Linked DNA regions of Homo sapiens: regions 2, 3 and 4 are each linked to region 1. Evidence: promoter capture Hi-C in human tissues and cell types (Jung and others, 2019). All regions are on one chromosome and are shown on one strand. Each heading gives the region's core, a stretch centred on a gene start or on the middle of the fragment in contact. The rest is flanking DNA. Distances are from core to core; before and after follow the strand shown. Region 1 holds the start of TMEM244 (transmembrane protein 244). Region 2 has its middle 51 kb from the start of TMEM244. Region 3 overlaps LOC105377999 (a long non-coding RNA gene). Region 4 overlaps LOC105377999 (a long non-coding RNA gene).

Region 1 (6,037 bases), core at 2,068-4,567:
GTAATTGTGGATCTGAGCTCATTTTCTCCTTTGATTTTATCAAGGAGAAATTCTAAATTATGTGCTACAATCTTGGAAATATTTCTTTAGGACCTTGAAGTTTTTGTGCCTCTATCATGAAGGAAGTAGCTGAGTCCAATTTTAACAAACAAAGGAGAACTCTAGATACAAATTACACAAAGGGACTGAAAATAATTTAAAACATGATGAAATATCAAGGAGAACAATTCAGAACTAAAGAATGTGAAGAGTTTTATGTATTTTATTCTTTATCATAAGTATGTGCTGAATGAATACATGTACACACAATATATATATATACACACACATATACATATAAAATGTACACATGTAAATATTTCATCAGCCTAATGACAGACTTGGAAATCAGAATTGTAGTTGCTAAATGTGTATGTGTATGCCTCATGCCTTATTCTCGCAATAGATCACAGTAGCAGTTCAAAAAATAATGCTTAAATCCAGTGCGGTGTCTCTGATGAAAAAAAAAAAAGATGCTTATTATAGATGTAAATACCCATACACACATAATCTCTACTCATTAGACTATTGGTCATCAAATTTTTTTCCAATGTAATTATAGAAAATTAGTACTTTTCAGTATTTTATCCAATAGAGTGCTGGAGTATTAGTTCCCAATGTATGGTGCCAACTTCCTGAGAGGATAGTTTTTGGGTGGTTATTGTTTACCTGAGTAACTCAGAAGGCATCTGAGTTGTGCACAAAGCAGCCTGTGTTGGGAGTAGAGTGAGTCAGGCACAAATCCTCTGCTTTATGCTGTGCTATGACTCCCAGGAAGTTCCACTTGCCCCCCTTTTTTTTTGAGACGGATTCCCTCATTGTTGCCAGGGCTGGAGTGCAATGGCGCGATCTCGGCTCGCTGCAACCTCTGCCTTCTGGTTTAAACGATTCTCCTGCCTAAGCCTCCTGAGTAGCTGGGATTACAGGTGCCCGCCACCATGCCCAGCTAATTTTTTGTATTTTTAGTAAAGACGGGGTTTCACTATGTTGGCCAGGCTGGTCTCGAAATCCTGACCTTGTGATCCGTCTGCCTCTGACTCCCAAAGTGCGAGGATTACAGGCATGAGCCACCACACCTGGCCTCCGCCTGCCCTCTTTAAGGAGAAATTCTGGGTCATCACTGTTACAAATAGGGCAGGGCATGGGATTTGGACAATCAGCATTTACTGAGGGTCCACCGTGTGCTGAAATCTGAAGACAACACTGGGAGCTGTTACAATGTTACCAGCAGGCAGAAAAGTCTTTTTCTGCAAGAACTCACAATATAAGCAGAGAACAGGGCAACCACACATTAAAAGATTTATCTAAGGTATATTAATAAAAGAGCATTGACAGTGTTATTAATATGCATTATGAATGTCAAATTCAATAACATATTCAGATGAAAACTATCAAGGCCTGGACTTGCTGAAGGCACTCTTTTCACCTTTGCTTTTGGTATGCAGGTAGATATTGCAGAATGTGCTCTTTATAGCGGTTAACAAGATGCTGTAATGGAAAAAGGATTACAGGGCACAGCTAAGTTCCCATCTAAAGTTGGTGCCACAGCAAAGCAATCAATCAACAAAGTGAAGACACCAACCCGCAGAATGGGAAAAAAAATACTCAAACACTACCCATCTGACAAGGGGCTAACAACCAGAATATATAAGGAGCTCAAACAACTGTAGAGGAAAAAATCTAATAATATGATTTAAAAATGATCAAAATATCTGAATAGACATTTCTCAGAACAAGACATACAAATGGCAAACTGGTATGTGAGAAGTGCTCAACATCATCGATCATCAGAGAAAGGCAAATCAAAACTACAAAGAGATATGACTTCACCCCAGTTAAAATGGCTTTTATCCCAAAACAGGCAATAACAAATGCTGGTGAGGATGTGAAGAAAAGGACACCCTCATACACTGCTGGTGGGAATGTAAATTAGTACAGCCACTATGGAGAACAGTTTGGAGGTTCCTCAAAAGAGAAAAATAGGACTGCCATATGATCCAGCAATCCCACTGCTGAGCATATACCCCAAAGAATGGAAATCAGTCTATCGGAGAGGTATCTGCATGCCCATGTATATTGCAGCATGTTTCACAATATCCAAGATTAAGAAACAACCTAAATGTCCATCAACAGACAAGTGGATAAAGAAATGTGGTACAGGTACAGAATAGAATTCAGCCAAAGGAAAGAATGAAATCCTGTCATTTGCAACAATATGGATGGAACTGGAGGTCCTTATGTTAAGTGAAATAAACCAGGCACAGAAAGACAAACTTCATATGTTCCTACTTATTTGTGGGAACTAAAAATGGAAACAATTGAACTCATTGAGATGGAAAGTAAAAGAATGGTTACCAGAAGCTGGGAAGGGTAGTGGGAGAAAAGGGGGAGTGTGGGGATGGTTAATGCATACAAAAAAGAGAGAGAATGTATAAGATCTAGTATTTGATAGCACAACAGAGTGACTATAGTCAATAATAATTTAATTGTACATTTAAAAATAACTAAAAGGGTATAATTGGATTGCTTGTAACACAAAGAATAAATGCTTGAGGTGATGGAAATCCCACTTACCTTGATGTGATCATTACATATTAGATGCCTATATCAAAATATATCATGTACCCCATAAACTCTATGGGGTATATTACTATATTACTATGTAATCACAGCAATTAAAAATTAAAATAAAAATAATAATAGAGTTGGTGCCAGTAAAAAGATGGGAGAATGAATTGTAAATGAAGGATTGGTTCTGGAGCCTCAGGACGCAGAGAGACAGAGCTCCAATACTGCCTCCTGGCAGTTCTTGAAAACATTCTACCCACAATATTGTGGCCATTATTTTAGAGTATGGGAACCCTTTTGTTTCCTAACAAAAAGTCATAAGTTTTACATTTCTTTGCCATGATGTGAAAGGAACTGATGATTTCTTTCTCAGAACTCTGTGGCCCTTGTGAGTGAAACAGAGAGGACAGGCCACGCTTCAACATGAATGCAGCAGCATCCTTTGGAAACAATCTCAAGACCTAACTGAAAACCCATGTTTCTAATTTAAGTATGAGACAGTAATTACTCATACAGCCAGAGAGGATTCCAAGTCCCTGCCTATTTGCCGCACTATCTAAAAACAATCAACTCATCTTTCAAATCTGACCAAACTACAAATGGTATGAGAACTCCATCGTTTAATAAGGATGTTCATTTTGGCACTTAGCAGCTTACGCGTGGCTCACAGATGGCATCTGTCTCGTTTTGCGTAATCCAATCATCCTGCACTACTGCGTCTCACACTTAGTCTCCAGGAGTAATTGAAAAGCTCACGGTGACAATTGTGTCTTCTTCCAGATGTCATCGCTATAAGGAGTGGGGCTTTCATCACCTCCTTGACGTAGGATGTGTACATGGCTCTCCAGGTCAGAGTTGCTCCAAGCAAGGTAAAGAGAAATTACTTCTTTGCATTGCCTTTCAGTTGCTGCCTAGCACTGGTGTAAATGAATATGTTCTATAAATGGCCTCTCTGTCAGTGGGCAACTTGTTTCACTTTTGGCTGGGTACCATACAGAAAACATTCTGCTGCACGGCTTGCATCTTGTGGTAATAGGGCAATATAAAGGCACCCATGCCCAAGAAAGGATTCTAAAACATGTAAATAGTCGCTGTTTAGAAGGCACCATTTTATTCGGAGGTAAGCTCTCTGGTATTAGCACCTGCACGTCTGCTATCGTTTTCTGAAATCATGACAGTTTGTTCTCAATCTTTTTTTCTTTTTTTTTTTTGCAGGGAGTGGCTTTTATTTTTGTAACTTCTAAAGGGTGCGCAAAATTTTAAATGCAAAGTGTTGAAACATTTCAAGCTGTAGGTTTGTTAGTTTCTTTTTCCCCCGAGGCTAGTGTTAATAGTTGTGTTTTACTTCAGTGCAAAAATACCCCTTTAAAAAAAAATCAAACAATCGAAAACAAGGAAATATGCAAAGCCTCAAAGCAGCTGTGTAAATTCATACAGGCTTTAGGCCTATAATGAGCCAGACTTAAGGGAATGATAGTGGAAAATCAGATTTTTACTTAAAAATTAAATTACAATTATGAGTGAGTGCTACATTCATTTTAGTAAAATATCAGCACCGTGTGTATTTCCTCAAGCTTTTTCTTTACACTACCATCATCACCACATATGTCATCAGTGAGAAATGTTGAGCATGACAACAGCTAAGAAAAATTTTCAAGGTCAGTAAAACATTATTTCAGGAAAAATATTTTTAAAAAGCTTATTTTTAAGGGGTTATTAAACTTCGTAATTTATGTATAGATTTGGGATTGAACTAGCAATAATAACTTCTGCTGAAGAGATAAAAATTAGAAGATAAAATCCTTTCTCTTAAGTAGCTTACACAAAGAATGGGGGCTCTATATTTAGTCGGGGCTTACACAGACCAGACAGACAGACACACACACACACACACACACACACACACACACACACACACACGCATTGCAGAGAAAATATCCAGATAGTTGCTGCAGTTCCTCACTATCTTAGAATCATCTGAGCTTCAAGTGTAGAATTAGAGCCTTAGAACATTAGAAGAATAGTGAATATGTTCAAAATAGATAGGTTGTTGACTATCTGAATTCTCATGATACATCCCTATAAGTTATGAGTTAACTTTTCTTTTAAGTGCTTGTTCACTGTCAATATTATCAGCACAAGAATTACTGATATGCTTATAAATTAATAGTAATAGCAAAAGTGACCTTCATCTAGAGATAACTCGAATACTCAACAAACATTTATTGAGTGCATGCAATGTGCCAGGCATTGGGCTAATTAAATCCCCCCTATCTGTACACTTTAAATGACAGAAAAGCTGACTCAAGGGAAAGAGTCATGGCCAAAGGCCATTTAATTAATTTGCTGTCTGGGAAAATAGCACAAGAACTGGGAAGAAAGCCCAAGTATGAGGACTGCTAAACTGTTCAGAATACAATGTATTCTACTCCAGTAGACGGCATGTTTCCTAACTATGTTAAACTAATGTAAACTTTCCTCTGTAAAACAAATGTTGTAAAAATCTCAGAAGCACAACACATTCCTGCATATCCTCAGAGTTGTTCACCTGAACTGGAGAATTTCATTCATTCAGGCAATTTCAGAGGGAACTACTTACCAGTAGGACGGAGCCTTTGCTGTGATTCTACAAGTGAGAGAGTCATATCTCATGATTTCTCCAGGAATTGTCCAAAGAACTACAATGCAGTCTTTCCTATGGGGAGAAGTAAGAGAGAAAGTATTATCTATTGGGAACATACAGTACTTAATGTTAAGAATTGTATACATGTTCAGAATACAAATCCCTTATGAAACTTTACCTGTAGATGAGTAGAACAAAACTCAGAAAGTAACCAGCCAATGTCACACACTTGTCAGTGATGAACTGGGGGAGAAACTCCAGTGGATCTGACTTAGAGTCCACATACTTTATTAATAGACTATGGTTCCGGCCAGGCGTGGTGGCTCATGCCTGTAATCCCAGCACTTTAGGAGGCCAAACCGGACGATCACTTTAGGTCAGGAGTTCGATACCAGCCTGGTAAACATGGTGAAACCCCATCTCTACTAAAAATACAAAAATTAGCTGGGTGTGGTGGTGCACACCTGTAGTCCCAGCTACTCAGGGAGGCTGAGGCAAGAGAATTCCTTGAAGCCGGGAGGCAGAGGTTACAGTGAGCTGAGATTGTGTCACTGTACTCCAGCCTGGGTGACAGAGCAAGACTCTGTTTCAAAAAAAAAAAAGACTATGGTTCCTACTATAGTGGTCTTGTCTTCCATTATTTCTTTCCTTCCTTCCATGATTATTATTCAAAATATATTTATTGAATACCTATGAAAGCCTGACCAATATTTTGGGGGCTGAAGAATTAAATGTGGTCAAATCAGTGTCTGTCTTTTAGAGACTGGAGAAAGAAATGTATACCTCCAAAAGTAGGTATGCTACAAT
Region 2 (6,037 bases), core at 2,017-4,516, 51 kb after region 1:
ATCTCAAAAATATGTTGGTGAAAAAAATCAAAACACATGTTTATCTCTGTATGGATATTTTAACATGTACATAAATATTACTATATATTATATATGGGTACATAGATGTATGGCACGACTGATACAGTGATGTGCATCAAATTCATGATACGAATGGCCTGGGGTGCAAGGTGAGAATGGCTGGGAATGGAACAGAGAAAGATTAAGCACTGGGCATGCTGCTTTTGAGCTGACAGTAGGATTTTCAAATAGAAATATCCATTTATGGCAGTGGAATGTACAAATCGAAGAATCAGGCAGCCTGTTTTTCACTTTATTTTACTATATTTTATTTTTTGACAGGGTCTTGCTGTCACTCAGGCTGTAGTGCAGTGGTGCGATTATGGCTCACTGCAGCCTCAATCTCCTGGGCTCAAGCGATTTTCCCACCTTAGCTTCCCTAGTAGCTGGGACTACAGGCATTCCACATTTCCTGGCTAATTTTTTAACATCTTTTATAAAGACAGAGTCTCATTACATTGCCTAGGCTGGTCTCAAACTCCTGGGCTCAAGTGATCATCCTGCCTCAGCCTCCCAAAGTCCTGGATTGAGGCAGCCTATTTTAAAGAACATTTCTAATGCTGCTTGTGAACTTAATGACTGATCAAACTAGTGTAACAAAATGACAATTTGTAGGTATCTATTATAATTTGAAGAGTTAACTAAAGTTATAAACTCACCGAAGAATCTCATCTTTAGAAATTTCAGTTCTAAATGTAGCTTCAAAATGTTGTGGTACAAATAAGATGGATTATATATCAAACTATATAAAGTAAACATGGGTGAGATTCATTTTCTGAAGCTCAGTCAGTATTGCATAGTTCTTTTGTGCTGTGAGGACAAATGCTCTGTTGAGCAATATACTTGATCTTATGAAGTCAGGCTTAAATATACTTCAACTTTTACAGGATATATTTGTATATCAAAGGAATATAATGATGTTAAAAGAATCTGCTATTTTTCTTACCACTTAACAAAATCAAAACTAAATCTAATTTGATAAATATATAAAAACTTAATGTTTATTTTTCTTTTCATGGTTCTATTAATATAGTAAACAAGATTGGGCAAGTGGTACAAAGTTCTGGTTTTGTAATTTGGACTGGTAATGTGCGTTCATTATCATAGTCATTAACATGCTTTTCTACAAATGAGTTCTGTTAATCACAAGGGGAAGCATCTCTGAGAAATATCAGACTAGCACATGGTAAGTGCTGAAAATATTTTTGTTGAATTGAGAGAATGAATGAATAAATTATCATTCATAGAAAGCTCTAAAAATCTTAAAACACTAATGGCACATTTATTTTACATTAATAAAAATATTAATGGTAGTTCACATATATTTTTCTGCATGAAAAACTGTCACCCAGTGGCATTGTAGATGCTTAGTAAGTGTGTATTGAATGAAGAAATGAATGGCTACACTGTACTACATTTATATTCTCACAAAAACTCAGTACATGATTATTTGCCTGCTTCCTTACTATTAATGAGATATATCAGATATATACAGCATGTCTATTTTATTGTGTTAGTTTTAAAGCCTTTGGTTGAAAATGGCAGAAACTGATTTTGAGAATAAAGCTATTTATTGGCTTCTGTGCTTGAAAAGTAAGTCTGCTGGCTTTAGGTGCAGCTTAAAATGGTGGCTGAAGATTTGGTTTATGTCTAAAGTGAGAAGACAAGATTAGAGAAAAAAGAGTAAAAAGAAATGAACAAAGCCTCCAAGAAATATGCAACGATGTGAAAAGACCAAATCTACGTTTGATGGGTGTACCTGAAAGTGATGGGGAGAATGGAACCAAGTTAGAAAACAATCTTCAGGATATTATCCAGGAGAACTTCCCCAACCTAGCAAGGCAGGCCAACGTGCAAATTCAGGAAATACAGAGAACACCACAAAGATACTCCTTGAGAAGAGCAACCCCAAGACACATAATTGTCAGATTCACCAAGGTTGAAATGAAGGAAAAAATGTTAAGGGCAGCCAGAGAGAAAGGTCAGGTTAATCCATCAGGTTAACAGTGGATCTCTTGGCAGAAACCCTACAAGCCAGAAGAGAGTGGGGGCCAGTATTCAACATTCTTACAGAAAAGAATTTTCAACCCACAATTTCATATCCAGCCCAAACTAAGCTTCATAAGTGAAAGAGAAATAATATCTTTTACCGACAAGAAAATGCTGAGAGATTTTGTCACCATGAGGCCTGCCTTACAAGAGCTGCTGAAGGAGGCACCAAACATGGAAAGGAAAAACTGGTACCAGCCCCTGCAAAAACATGCCAAATTGTAAAGACCATTGATGCTATGAAGAAACTGCATCAATTAACGGGCAAAATAACCAGCTAGTATCATACTGACATGATCAAATTCACACATAATAATATTAACCTTAAATGTAAATGGGCTAAATACCCCAATTAAAAGACACAGAGTGGCAAATTGGAGAAAGGCAAGACCCATCAGTGTGCTGTATTCAGGAGACCAATCTCATGTGTAGAGACGCACATAGGCTCAAAATAAAGGGATGGAGGAAGATCTACCAAGCAAATAGAAAGCAAAAAAAAAGCAGGGGTTGCAATCCTAGTCTCTGATAAAACAGACTTTAAACCAACAAAGATCAAAAGAGACAAAGAAGGACATTACGTAATGAATGGTAAAGGGATCAATTCAACAAGAAGAGCTAACTATCCTAAATATATATGTGCCCAATACAGGAGAACCCAGATTCATAAAGCAAGTTCTTAGAGACGTACAAAGAGACTTACTCTCCCACACAATAATAACAGGAGAATTTAACACCCCACTGTCAATATTAGATCAATGAGACAGAAGGTTAACAAGGATATCCAGGATTTGAACTCAGCTCTGCACCAGGCAGACCTAATAGACATCTACAGAATTCTACACCCCAAATCAACAGAATATACATTCTTCTCAGCATCACATTATACTTATTCTAAAATTGACCACATAATTGGTAGTAAAACACTCCTCAGCAAATGTAAAAGAATAGAAATCACAACAAACTGTCTCTCAGACCACAGTGCAATCAAATTAGAACTCAGGATTAAGAAACTCACTCAAAACCTCACAACTACATGGAAACTGAACAACCTGCTCCTGAATGACTACTGGGTACATAACGAAATGAAGGCAGAAATAAAGATGTTCTTTGAAACTAATGAGAACAAAGACACAATGTATCAGAATCTCTGCGACACATTTAAAGCAGTGTGTAGAGGGAAATTTATAGCACCAAATGCCCACAAGAGAAAGCAGGAAAGATCTAAAATTGACACCCTAACATCACAATTAAAAGAACTAGAGAAGCAAGAGCAAATACATTCAAAAGCTAGCAGGAGGCAAGAAATAACTAAGATCAGAGCAGAACTGACGGAGATAGAGACACGAAAAACCCTTTAAAAAAATCAGTGAATCCAGGAGCTGGTTTTTTGAGAAGATCAACAAAATAGACAGACCGCTAGCAAGACTAATAAAGAAGAAAAGAGAGAAGAATCAAATACATGCAATAAAAAATGATAAAGGGAATATCACCACCGATCCCACAGAAATACAAACTACCATCAGAGAATACTATGAACACCTCTAGGCAAATAAACTAGAAAATCTCGAAGAAATGGATAAATTCCTGGACACATACAGCCTCCCAAGACTAAACCAGGAAGAAGTTGAATCTCTGAATAGACCAATAACAGGTTCTGAAATTGAGGCAATAATTAATAGCCTACCACCCAAAAAAAAGTCCAGGACCAGATGGATTCACAGTCGAATTCTACCAGAGGTACAAAGAGGAGCTGGTACCATTCCCTCTGAAACTATTCCAATCAATAGAAAAAGAGGGAACTCTTCCTAACTCATTCTATGAAGCCAGCATCATCCTGATACCAAAGCTTGGCAGAGACACAACAAAAAAAGAGAATTTTAGACCAATATCACTGATGAACATCAATGCGAAAATCCTCAATAAAATACTGATAAACCGAATACAGCAGCACGTCAAAAAGCTTATCCACCACAATCAAGTTGGCTTCATCCCTGGGATGCAAGCCTGGTTCAACGTACTCAAATCAATAAACATAATCCAACACATAAACAGAACCAACGAAAAAAACCACATGATTATCTCAATAGATGCAGAAAAGGCCTTCAACAAAATTCAACAGCCCTTCATGCTAAAAACTCTCAATAAACTAGGTATTGATGGAGCATGTCTCAAAATAATAAGAGCTATTTATGACAAACCCACAGCCAATATCTTACTGAATGGGCAAAAACTGAAAGCAGTACCTTTGAAAACCGGCACAAGACAAGGATGCTCTCTCTCACCACTCCTATTCAACATAGTGTTGGAAGTTCTGGCCAGGGCAATCAGTCAGGAGAAAGAAATAAAGAGTATTTAGTTAGGAAAAGAGGAAGTCAAATTGTACCTGTTTGCAGATGACATGATTGTATATTTAGAAAACCCTATCGTCTCAGCCTACCTGATAAGCAATTTCAGCAAAGTCTCAGCATATAAAATCAACATGGAAAAATCACAAGCATTCCTATACACCAATAACAGAGAAACAGAGAGCCAAATCATGAGTGAACTCCCATTCACAATTGCTTCAAAGAGAATAAAATACCTAGGAATCCAACTTACAAGGAATGTGAAGGACCTCTTCAAGGAGAACTACAGACCACCGCTCAATGAAATAAAAGAAGACACAAACAAATGGAAGAACATTCCATGCTCATGGATAGGAAGAATCAATATCATGAAAATGGCCATACTGCCCAAAGTAATTTATAGATTCAATGCCATCCCCATCAAGCTACCAATGACTTTCTTCACAGAATTGGAAAAAACTACTCTAAAGTTCATATGGAACCAAAAAAGAGCCCACATAGCCAAGACAATCCTAAGCAAAAAGAACAAAGCTGGAGGCATCATGCTACCTGACTTCAAACTATACTACAAGGCTACAGTAACCAAAACAGCATGGTACTGGTACCAAAACAGAGATATAGACCAATGGAACAGAACAGAGGCTTCAGGAACAACACCACACATCTACAACCATGTGATCTTTGACAAACCTGACAAAAACAAGAAATGGGGAAAGGATTCCCTATTTAATAAATAGTGCTAGGAAAACTGGCTAGCCATATGCAGAAAGCTAAAACTGGATCGCTTCCTTACACCTTATACAAAAATTAACTCAAGATGGATTAAAGACTTAAATGTAAGACCTAACACCATAAAAACCCTAGAAGAAAACCTAGGCAATACCATTCAGGACATAGGCATGGGCAAAGACTTCATGACTAAAACCCCAAAAGCAATGGTAACAAAAGCCAAAATAGACAAAAGGGATCTAATTAAACTAAAGAGCTTCTGCACAGCACCATCAGAGTGAACAGGCAACCTACAGAATGGGAGAGAATTTTTGCAATCTATCCATCTTACAAGGCTAATATCCAGAATCTACAAAGAACTTAAACAAATTTACAAGAAAAAAGAAAAACTCCATCAAAAAGTTGGCAAAGGATATGAACAGACATTTCTCAAAAGAAGACATTTATGCAGCCAACAGACACATGAAAAAATGCTCATCATCACTGGTCATTAAAGAAATGCAAACCAAAACCACAATGAGATACCATCTCACGCTAGTTAGAATGGCAATCATTAAAAAGTCAGGAAACAACAGATGCTGGAGAGGATGTGGAAAAATAGGAACACTTTTACACTGTTGGTGGGAGTGTAAACTAGTTCAACCATTGTAGAAGATAATGTGGAAATTCCTCAAGGATCTAGAGCTAAAAATACCATTTAACCCAGCAATCCCATTACTGGGTATATACCCAAAAGATTATAAATCATGCTACTATAAAGACACACACACACGTATGTTTATTGTGGCACTATTCACAATAGCAAAGACTTGGAACCAATCCAAATGTCCATCAATGATAGACTGGATTAAGAA
Region 3 (6,037 bases), core at 1,846-4,345, 55 kb before region 1:
GACTGTGTTTGCTGAATGTGTGCTTAGTTTTAAAGTGTTTTCAAACAGTACTTACCCTATCGAGAGTGATAAGTATAAAAAAAGAATGTTTAAAAGTGTTAAGTAATAAAAGGCAGAGTACAATTATGACAAAAAGTAAAGATAATTCAAAAAGTGAAAATGGTATGAGACTGTGCTTTTTATTTGAGTGCATGGGTTAAATCATTAGAAGAATAGATTCTGAGAAACTAAAAGTGAATCATGAAAAAATGAAACGGACAATAATCATCAGGAAAAATATAAAAATAACACAATGAAAACACACATGTAAGGCCAAAGGAGCAATCTCAGAGGCTTGTACGGCTTAGATCCTGATGTTTATTTAGGAGATAATTTTCAGAGTTTGAGGACTCGAAGGCCAAGTCCTCAGTAAATGGATGGTCTTGGAACTTTTGGCGAAAGATGTATTTCCATAGGTTCAAGGCCTCAGTGATCCGCACAATATCAAAGTGAGAAGAGTGTGAATACCAAAAAAACAATTCCCTACACTTGCAGAGATCAACAAGGAAGAATGTTTTCCACCTCGGCAGACAAAACTGGTCTTTTTATAGAAAAAGATGTTTGACAGTGTACATAGGATTGAGAAAAAAAGAACGTCTAGTTTAAAGCTGCAAAGAACCAACTGACTCTCATTTGCTGAAAATCTTTCCATGAACTAAAAAGCTTTTTAAAATCAACCTGATCTTAAATATTTTAAAAATATATTCGTGAATATTAAGTTCTATAGTTAAAAGAAACAAGGATACAAACAGAGAAGCAAATCAGCACCCACACTCAAATGTGTAATCTATCACTTTTTAACACAGTGACTTCTACCAACACATTAACTTTTGTTGCAAACATTGGGGTAAACTTTTTATGTAATTTTTGATTCATTGTGATTTAAAGCTTAGCTATTAAAAAACCTTTTATTAACATCATCTGCTTATTTTTTATAAATGGAGATGTTTTTCAGTTCTATGTAACCAGAATAAAATATGGAAATATATTTGAATGCTGAAGACTTTCAGTTTCAACCATAACACTCGATTGTCTTTCTGTGTGTATCAAAATAGCCTCATGATTTTTATTGATGGACTTTATCATAAGTTCTAATAAAACACTACTGTCATCTGTTTTATTCATAGGGATTCCACATAAGTATTCTTTAGGGCAAGAAAATGTTCTACTGTCTAAAAGCTCGAAAATCATGACAATAAATGAGAGAAACTATTGGAGATTTTTGAGCAGGAAAGTTACATAATGAAAGTGGTGTTTTAGGAACATACTAATCTGGCTTTTTGTCAGATGCATTGCCCAGAGACCAGTTAAGAAGATACTGTGAACAGCGTCCTGTGAAAATAACCATTATAATACAATAGAAAATGGAACTAAGACCTATTATATCTGTTGGAAATCATGAGAGGCATAAAACAAAGTGGTTGAAAAATTATGTTTACATACCAAATAGATATTTTGAAAGGCTTTTCACCTTCAAGCTCTATGATTTCTTCTATTTTGTCTTCAAATAAAAAATGTAAAAAAGGAAGAAATGACACTACAGAGAGTGTTGAGAGAGATCACTAATATAGAAAAAAGCACCTAGCAAATTGTTACCCTACCTCTTTTAAAATGCTTCTGGTTGGTTGAACAGCATTGACTAGATACGAGAATTCTTTGAACTGAACTTTTGGCAATGAAAGTCTCCCTCCAGTCCCATCTTTAACCTCAAAATATTTTTCCGTGATTTTACAAAATTATTTGTCAAAGATAATAAATATTCTTTCTGGAAAATTATAGAAATTCATATGAGCAAGCAAAAAATTAAAGTTACTTGAAATTCTACAACTTAGATGGAATTGTTTGAAAGACTATCCACTTTTAATGTATAGTCTCTCCAATATTATTCTATACAAATATCTACCAGTAAACACACAAGGTTTCAGATGAAACAGGATTGTACTATACATTCAGCTAAATGTTTCGAAAATGTGTCTATTACATATTATTAGTTAAATATTTAGCATCCAGGGGATAGTTATTTAATAAATATCAATGGCCCGAAATCTAATGTACAATTTTAAGCAGACTAGCTTGAAATTTAAATTTAATTAAAATTATGGTCATAAGATATGCACGATCTCTAAAACATAATAAATTTAATCTGTATCCAATCATAGATTTTGAGTCAAAGTATTTACAAACACCAGTCCCTTTTAAATTCAGTATTGGCTTGGCCCCATTGTAACCAGAATTTAGTATCCCAAAGGTCCATCTGAACATTTCACCATGTCGGGTCCATATGAACATCTCAACATGTTGGAACAAAATAGACTCCAGAGTATAACTATTTTATTCTACCCAGATCATCACAAGTCCAATATTTCCAATTGATGGTATCAGTAAGGCACAATTTTGCTGCCTTAAATTGGTGTTTTCTCCCATCCTTCTCCTTCCTCAGCAAGAGTCGTTAAAACTTTATCTCATTTTTCATTATTCTGCTTCCCGATACTTTCACCGCATAAGGATATTGAACCTTTAGTGATTCAATGACTGGCTCAAAGGACATAATCAGTTACAGGAAGGTCTAGGACTTGACTCCTTGATGCTTCATTTTTCTCTTGGCTTGAATACAAGGGCTCCTGACACCATACCTATTGCCTTATGTCAAAAGGCATGATATATAAGTCCTGGAAGCCCTCATTGACACAGTTCCACTTATAGCAGTGATTTTGTGACACAGGACTTCAGGATAGTGTGTGGCAGACACAGATCGTATGAAAAACAAAAATCACAACCACAAAAAGTCTTTCACATTACTCGAAATTGCATGTTATCTCTCTGTGAATTAAAGCCAGATTCACTAACCAACACCAGTTTTTTACTTATCAGATTGGCAACAGTGAATAAGTTGAACAAAATTCTGTTTCTGAGGCTATGGGGTAATAGGTACTCTCATACATTGCTAGTGGCAGAACCCAATGGCACAACCCCATAAAGGACATTTTGGCAATATTTTTAATAGTTACAAATGTATTTACCCTTTGACCCAGCAGTCTCACTTCTGGGAATGCATCTTACTGACACATCTGCACACATCAAAATGATTTATGTCTAAGGTTATTCATGATGGCATTGTTTGTGAAGGCAGAAGATTAGAAACAACCCAAGTGTCTATCAGCAGAGTGGTTAATTAAATTATGGTACATGCACACAATGGAATATTAGGTAGCTGTGAAAAAACAATGAGGAAGCATAAGATGTCCTGATAAGGAAAAATCTCGGGGAAATATTGTTAAAGATAAAACTCAAGGTGTGGAGTAAAGTGATGATAATCTACATTTTATACAAGAAGTGGAGGAAGCAATATGAACAATTAATACAAGCAGTTATTCATAGGGGGAGTAGGAATGAGATAGATAGTGCAAGGTAGGACGGAGCCTTCTCAGTGTTTACTTTGTTCAAGTTTTTTAAAAAGTTTTAAATAAATCATTTGAATATTACTTATTAAAACAAAAACTAAATAAATGTTTCGAAGACATATATTTACTTTCATTGTTCTAGTTAAATAACAGGCCTAGAGTGCCCTAAATCCTTTCTGGCTTAATCATTTTGAATGGGAACATTAAAGTATCTTCTTCGATGAGCTCTCTTGTTGCAACAAAAAGGTTAAGAAAAATATTAAATCAATGTACTCATCATTTCGCTTGATAATCACCTAGTAGTTTGCTGCTTTATGGCAATAAGCTATCTAGGAATATCCTAAGTAACACTGTGGGCTTTTCTCACTTTCCCAACTCTGCCTTTTAGGAAGAGTGATAGGACAGCAGCACGTCCCTATTCCAAATATATCTATGTCATGACTGAGAGGAAAATGGAAAAACTACACTTTGATATGGATAATCATTTGTTTTAATAAATAACACAAAAGATCACAGGAAAGTGACATGATTAAGCTGAGTGCAGAGAATTGTCAAATTTTTTTTTAAAAAGCTTGTGTATGCAGCAGAGTCAAATAGTAATTTGATTAGAATAGAGGGCCCAGTTGAATAAAACAGATATAATTCATTAACTTGATAGGATCATTTTCAAATCTTCACTTTACATGTCATTACATGGGCACATTTTGCTCCTCAAAAATCAGGCTTTCCTGGCCGGGTGCAGTGGCTCAAGCCTGTAATCCCAGCACTTTGGGAGGCTGAGGTGGGTGGATCACTTGAGGCCAGGAATTCAAGACCAGCCTGGCTAACATGGTGAAACCCTGTCTCTACTAAAAATACAAAAATTAGTCAGGTATGGTGGTGGGCACCTGTAATCCCAGCTACTTGGGAGGCTGAGGCAGGAGGCTCGCTTGCACTGCGCTCCAGCCTGGACAACAGAGCGAGATTCCATCTCAAAAAAAAAAAAAAATTCAGGCTTTCTTAGGATTATGAGTTCTGCTTCAAAATAAGATTTCTGTAATAAAGTTGAAGCAGGAAAACACAAAGCTCTTAGGGTTGGAGTGAAATTTTGCATTAATGCTCTATTACCAGAATTATATATCATTATTATACATATTATTATTTTTAAAAATGAAATGAACACTAGCTGTGGGATTTTAGAAAGGGCATTTAACCATCTCTGAGCTCCAGTTTCCTTACCTGTTCATAGGGATGATAATAATATCTTGATCATAGGGTGTTGTAAGAAATAAATGAGTTAATGGATTTGAGAATGTGCTTAATACCATGCCTGATATTAAATGCTCATTAAGTGGTGGCTAATATTTTGATCTTTTTGAATATCAACATTCCTATAAGAATTTATTAGTTTTACTATACATAGTCACGTTCTCAGAAATGTGTTGTTAGGTAATTTTGCCATTGTGTGACCATCATAGAGTATACTCACACAAACCTAAATAGTGTAGCCTACTACACATGTAGGCTATCCGGTATAGCCTATGCCCCTAGGCAACAAACCAGTGCATCATGTTACTGTACTAAATACTATAGGCAACTGTAACACATTGGTAAGTATTTGTGTATGTCAACATAGAAAACATACAATAAAAATACAGTGTTATAATCTTATGAGACCACCATTGTATATGCAGTCATTGACTAAAACATCATTTTGCAGTGCATGACTATACACACACACACTCACCCATATATAACATTTGTGATATAAATTCTAATAACAATAATGCTTATGATATGCTAATTGTAAAACAGGGATGTGAAATTCAATGAATATTATGATTTAACAACAAGAAATATACAAGTACAGGCCAGGCGCAGTGGCACATGCCTGTAATCCCAGCACTTTGGGAAGCTGAGGCAGGTGGATCACCTTAGGTGAGGAGTTCGCGACCAGCCTGGCCAACATGGTGAAACCCCATCTCTACTAAAAATACAAAAAATTAGCCCGGCATGATGGCGCAAGCCTGTGATCCCAGCTACTCAGGAGGCTGAGGCAGGAGAATCGCTTGAACCTGGGAGCGGAGGTTGCAGTGAGCCAAGATCGTGCTATTGCACTCCAGCCTGGGTAACAAGAGTGAAACTCCATCTCAAAAAAAAAAAAAAAAAAGAAATATTAAGTACAATAATAGTGGAAGTATTGGAATAGTAAAACTATTAGTGACTATTCTTTTCTCTATTTCCCAAATGTTTTCTAAAAATTTTTCTAACTTTATAATGACAATAAGGATAATGTAATAAACTTGGCAAGGGAGAAGAAATGAAAATAAATTGTGAAAAGGAATAAACTACCTTGATTGAGGTTATAATTTCTCTCCAACCCTAAGAGCTTTTGTGTTCTCCTTCTTCAGCTATATTACAAAAATCTTATTTTGAAGCAGAACTCATAATCCTACAAGAAAGCCTGATTTTTTTTTTTTTTTTTTGAGGTGAAGTCTTGCTCTGTTGCTCAGGCTGGAGTACAGTGGTACAATCTTGGTTCAATTCAACCTCTGCCTCCCTGGATCAAGCGATTCTCTTGCCTCAGCCTCCCAGGTAGCTAGGATTACAGGTGCCCA
Region 4 (6,037 bases), core at 2,013-4,512, 36 kb before region 1:
TTTATTAGAGAAAGAAGTCTCTGCCAGAGTTTCTTGTAATAACCAAATAAAATCATGGCAATATTTTGCTTAATACTCTCTATGGCTACTTATTATGCTTCTGATCAAATCCTAAGTCATACACCTGACCCTGGTGATCATGCCTGGATAAAACTTTTCATTCACCTTCTCCTAGATCATTCTCTCCCTTGAAGCTCCGCTCCTTGCCATGTTCCTGCAATGTCTGCAGTGTTGTTGCAGAGATTGTTCCCACTGTAGGGAACAATTTCTCTCCTCTCTATTATTATTTTCCCAGCTAAATCTTAGTGATATTTCATTTTTTAATATTAGGATTCTAAGAGATGCAAATGACTCTATCAAATAAATTAAGGATGACTTTGAAAGTTAATATTTCAGGGCAAAAGAGTTTTCTCCCTAATCTTTCACATCACACCATGCAAATAGAATTTTTTCACTTCATTCTGTAGAGTTCATTTCTGTACGTATTTATTGAGCACCTCTATATATCAAGTATTGTGTAGGAGTTTTGGGGAGTGGGGGTTCAAAAATGAGTATGACATGATCCTTTCACCTGAAAGACTTCATAGTGTGGTGAAGAAGACAGATAATAAGAAAATAATTTTAATGTATTCTTGTTAGATAAAAGTCTGCAGAGAGAATTATGGTTGCCCAGAAGAGGGAAACTTTGCCAAGCCTGAGATTTCATAAAATTCCTTCTCAGTACCTTTTCACCAGGTCCTGTACAGTTCAAAATCCCTAGAGTCTAGAAAAGAATTTTCTCTGATTAAACTGGGTACCAGGAAAGGTAATTTTAGAACTAAAGATGGTTCTGTCTTTTGGCAACAACATAATCATTTATATAACTTAATTTAGCCAAGAGCTTTCTTTTCACACACAATAACAAACGAAGAGTTGTCCACCTGTCTTAAAAGAGTAACTTGTAAGATAATATTATTAGGTCTATTGACTGGGAAGTAGATTGTGATAAACTTGTAAAGCAAAACCCCCTTCACTCCAGAAAAGAATTACTCTCCTGACAATAGAGCAGTACCTTCAAATTGGGGTTTATGTACACCTGGGAGCACCAGGAACCTTTCCAAGGCCTACACAGGACCATGATTTTAAGGAAATCAACTTCCAGATCTTCAACTTTCATATGTATACTCTCGAAAACTACTAAAATTGTCTTCTGTGCTTTCCTAATTTCCACATTTCCATTTATAATCCCTCTTCTCAAACTTTATAAAAGTGAACAACTCACCTTTCCTGAATTGAATTTTACTTTATCATATTCTTAATGTTTGAAAAAACTTCTGAGGCACCAATAAAAGGGCGGTGGGGCAAGGAGCAGTTCCAAGTATTGGTATCAGTATTGACAAAGTGAATAACGCAAATGATTGGTTAGCAAATTTTTTTTGTTGAGAGTTTCCCTTTTCAATTATTTTCATCAAAATCCAGTGAGGATCTAATAGAGTTCTTAACAAATAGATTATTAAAAACTAATTTTCGATGATAAATCACTATGGAATTTTTGTTATATGTCTCAAAAGGAGTTCAAAGAATTGAATAACAGAGCCACAACAAACTCCATCCAGTTCCGTCTACTTATTTAGGTTAACTGTGTTTCTCAGGGCCTACATTTGTAAAAACGAAAAACAGAAGTGCCATTTTTAATTTTAGTAATGAGTAATGATCATACATAGATACAGCCCCATTTATTTCATTAAAAGATGCATTGCCAATAAATTTTATTCAACACATATTTATCAAAGTTTTAATAAATGTTTGGATCAGTTGTGCACTAATAAAAACGATAACTCAATCCAGACTGAATTTTTTTAATGCTTAGAGCCTCATGTTCACAAAATTTTTAAATTTCAAATACTATACTGAAAGTGTTATAGGCTAATAAAAGACTTTTAAGCATAAAAATGTATCATAAATATATAGGTAAAATTCTCGTGAAGGCATGGATTAGAAGTATGTGTAGAAAGAGTCAAGGAAAAGCTTGTTTATATATTTGCATTTCTATAGACAGATAAAACTGTTATGGTAACAAAATGTTTGACTGGATATAATTTAAAAACTGAAGTTATTGCTTTATTTTTAAATGCTGGTGTTTTAAACATATGGATATGACATATTCTCCATTTTTATTTTTATTATTTATCTTATTTTATTTTACTTTTAGACAAGTCTTAGTCTGTCACCCAGGCTAGAATGCAGTGGTGTGAACAGAGCTCACTGCAGCCTCAACCTCTCGGACCGAAGCAATCCTCTCTTATCCTCCTGAGTAGCTGGCTCCACAGGTGCACACCAACACATCCAGCTAGTTTTTAAGAAAGTATTTTGTATAGATGGGGTGGGCGCATCTCCCTTTGTTGCCCAGGCTGATCTCGAACTCCCAGGCTCAAGTGATCCTCCAGCCTTGGCCTCCCAAAGTGCTGGGATTATAGGCATGAGCCACCCACCATGTCTGGCCAGAACTGAGGCACTGAAAACAATGCCCTATTTCTTACTGTGAGTAAGGAACTAAGGTTTATATCTTTTGGTTCTATCCAAATTCCTCTGCCTGTGCTTACGGGCTGATCCCTAGAATTGCATGGTTGTCTAATTTTTTATGGAAAAACCATCTTTTCTTTTCTCATACTGGAAATTAAATTGTAATTTGATCTTATTTAGACCAGGTAGCCAATAAATATTTGAATGCTGTAACCAAGGCAACTAACGAGCCAGCCAATTGACCAGTCAATCAATTATAGATGAATACAGATTTCCAGAAACATTTCAAATTTTATTTCTGTCATCAAAGTGCCTACAATACAGCATGGCAACTGTACTTACAATTCAAAGAAGTGAGGTCTAAAAGTCATTATTTGAGTTTGAAATGCAGACAGCAATATTTGGTACAATACACACTTTAACCAATAAGTATACACAACATATATGTATATGTGATATATAAACATATGTATGTGTATGCATATATAACTGTGTGTGTGTGTGTGTGTGTGTGTGTGTGTGTGTGCACGTGACCCTTGAACAACACAGGTTTAAACTACTATGCAGGTCCACTTATATGCGAATTTTTTTCAATAAAAGTTACATAAAGTGCGCCTGCCTCTCCTGCCTCCCCTTTCACCTCCTCCACCTCTTCTGCCTCTGCCAGTCCTGAGAGAGCAAGACCAACCCCTCCTTTTCCTTCTCCTTCTCAGCCTATTCAACATGAAGATAACAAAGATGAAGACTTTTATGATGATCCACTTCCAATTAATGAATAGTAAATGTATTTCCTCTTCCTTATGATTTTCTTAATAACTAATAACCTTTTCTCTAGCTCGCTTTGCTTTAAGAATACTGCATATAACACATATGATATGCAAAATATCTGTTAATAGACTATGTTTTTGCCAAGGCTTCTGGTCAAGAATAGCCTATTCGTAGTTAAATTTTGGGGGGAGTCAAATGTTATCTGAGGGTTTTCAACTGCAGGGCATTAGTGCTCCTTGCCCCCAAGTTGTTCAGGGGTCAACTGTATGTTTTTATTAAGACAATTATCCTCTCTAAGGCTGGCTTCAGGGTATGGTTAGCCACTGGTCCTGCTAAACAGTATAGGTAGTAGAACAAATATAATTCATATCTCAGGTGATCTGCTTACAGGGTAACAACCTCCAACAGAGGAAAAACCTTACACAACGGAGGAGACCAGCAAACAAATCTGTTTCTACCACTTGCTTGTTGACACATTCAACGAGGAGCAGTTAACTCATCTTACTCAGCAGATATAGAACAGTTTAGGTGTTCTTGAAATCACATGATGAGTTCTACATGTACTCACGCTACATGGACTCAAAGATGCCTACTAATTGTCTGCAGCAGAACCTTTACAACACAATGTCTCAAAGTTAGTTTGCCAATGATAACCCAAAAGTGCTCAATCTAGAATTTATTTCCTTCATTAAGAAATAATTTGAACTTAACTGTAACTTTACAGAGTAAATTATTGAATTTGGCTTCTGATAAAAATAGAAATTCTGAATATACAGCATCATTTGTTTCATTTTGGATAAAAATTTAAAATGAATATCCTGAGATTGCTGAAACTGCCTTAAAATCTTTTGTTTCATTCCCATTAACATAGCTTTGTGAGACTTGTTTCTCTACTATCAGTTGTTAAAATTAAAGTAGGTCTGGCATCGTGGCTCACGCCTGCAATTCCAGCACTTTGTGAAGTCGAGGATGGCGCATCATCTGAGGCCAGGAGTTCAAGACCAGCCGAGGCAACAAAGTGAGATCTCTGTCTCTCCGAAAAAAAAAAAAAAAAAGCCAGACATGGTGGCACACGCCTGTGGTCCCAGCCATAAGAGGCCAGAGAATAGCTTCAGCCCAGGAGTTTGAGACCAACCTGGGCAACATAGTGAGACCCCCAAGACCCTCATCTCTACAAAAAATAAAATATTAGTGGGGTGTGGTGGTACATGTCTGTAGTCCCAACTACTTGGGGTCTGAGGTGGGAGGATCACTGAGCCCAGGAGGTCAAAGCTTCTGTGAGCCATGATCGCATCATTGCACTCCAGTCTGGGAGACAGAGTGAGACCCAGTCTCAAAAAAAAAAAAAAAAAAAGAAAGAAAGGGAAAAAAAAAGAAATTAAAGTAGATTAGATATGTTAACAAGTAAGAAGCAAGCTTACTTGTCACATTAAAAACTGTATGTGGGTAGTTTAATGTATGTAAATAGTGTTTAACTTGGGAAGTTGCTTTTCATTCATATTTTTGTTTAGTTACAATTGTGAAATGACAAAAAGTTATTGGCAAAACAGTGATTTTTCTGTATTAGTTGTCTACATACATATTTTCACTGAATAATATGGATAATTTTTGTAATTCTTTCATTTTTAACATTTGTTCCAATGGCATTAATTAAAATATAATTTTATGTCTACAGGATCTAATAATAAAAAATTGGAATTATATCTTATATGTCTTTTAAACTTTGTTCATTTTATTTATTTTTTAATAACTCAATGTTATTCATATTTTCTAAAACCATTAGTTCATGACTGATTCAGAGTAAAAAACATACACACAAAAAAACTGGAAGTTAGCCACACTGAACTAGGAACTGAAAGTCTCACTGAACTAAGAGACTTTCTGAGTCTCTGTTTTCTGTTCTATGAAACAGGAATGTCAATACTTTAGAAAGATACTGTATAATTGAATAAAATCATGAGTAACACATTCCTGGTCTCTATTAGTCATTCAATATATGTAATCTTTTATGGCATATGCATTTAGACTATTTTAATAATAATATCTAGCCTCCATAATGTTATGTACTATTCTACATTCTTCCTGTGTATTAACTCATTCAATCCAAGTCCTGTGAGATGAATAATATTATTAGCTTCATTTGACAGGTTAATAAGCTAAGGGCCATAGTCAGTTTTCACTAGGTAATGCTGTAATAAGAAACAACGTCAAAATTCCAATAGCTTCTAACAATAAATACTTATTTCTCACATATATTATTTTGGTGGCTGCACCTCACTTTCCTTAGCTCTTCTCTGTGGGTCTTCTCATTCCAGGCCCCAGGCTGAAGGAGTAGCCCCCTCTTCTGAGGGGACACATCATTTCCTTGGAAGAGGGTAAAAGCAAGAGAGATGGTGGAAACCCACTGCAGATCTTGAAGCTGCTTGCTAGATATAGTATACACCATGTTTACTCACATACCACTGGCCAGAGCACACTCATGGCCAAGAACAAGGTCAATAGAACAAAGAAGTATCATCCCCTTAGAAGAAGGAGAAATGATTATTCAGGAGCAATAATAGTCTGTCACAGTTACGCTGTCTTTTTTTGTCCCTTTTGTTCTGCTATAACAGAATACTTGAGATTGGGTAATCTCTACAGCACAGAGATTTATTTCTGAAAGTCTTGGAACTAGGAAGTTCACGGTCAAGGGGCCCACATCTGGTGAGAATTGTCTTGCTGCATCATCCTATGATGGAACGCAGAAGGGAAAGAGGGCATGTGCATG

Evidence for each region. The method cuts DNA at HindIII sites, captures the fragments that hold promoters and counts their contacts. A contact is called where the count stands out against the background at its distance.
Region 2: a contact is called between a fragment that was not itself captured here and the fragment with the promoter of TMEM244 in region 1, in 2 of the 25 tissues and cell types used here (ovary and stomach).
Region 3: a contact is called between a fragment that was not itself captured here and the fragment with the promoter of TMEM244 in region 1, in 2 of the 25 tissues and cell types used here (hippocampus and psoas muscle).
Region 4: a fragment that was not itself captured here is called in contact with the fragment with the promoter of TMEM244 in region 1 in 1 of the 25 tissues and cell types used here (pancreas).

What each region holds. Positions count from the first base shown.
Region 1 is chr6:129,858,595-129,864,631 of GRCh38, reverse strand. It overlaps TMEM244 (transmembrane protein 244), which reads left to right and starts at 3,317. Exons shown (of 5, transcript NM_001010876.2): 1 at 3,317-3,476. The coding sequence starts at 3,444. LOC105377999 (a long non-coding RNA gene) reads right to left here. Exons shown (of 8, transcript XR_942986.3): 2 at 5,207-5,302. RefSeq lists a silencer at 714-1,008. The HindIII fragment of the contact is 10,214 bases long and covers 1-5,967 here.
Region 2 is chr6:129,807,425-129,813,461 of GRCh38, reverse strand. No RefSeq gene overlaps it. Among named protein-coding and RNA genes, the nearest start is that of TMEM244, 51 kb to the left of the region's middle. The HindIII fragment of the contact is 5,119 bases long and covers 707-5,825 here.
Region 3 is chr6:129,913,516-129,919,552 of GRCh38, reverse strand. The region is part of intron 4 of LOC105377999 (a long non-coding RNA gene); the gene reads right to left. Among named protein-coding and RNA genes, the nearest start is that of TMEM244, 55 kb to the right of the region's middle. The HindIII fragment of the contact is 4,560 bases long and covers 816-5,375 here.
Region 4 is chr6:129,895,032-129,901,068 of GRCh38, reverse strand. All of the region lies in intron 4 of LOC105377999 (a long non-coding RNA gene), which reads right to left. Among named protein-coding and RNA genes, the nearest start is that of TMEM244, 37 kb to the right of the region's middle. The HindIII fragment of the contact is 5,137 bases long and covers 694-5,830 here.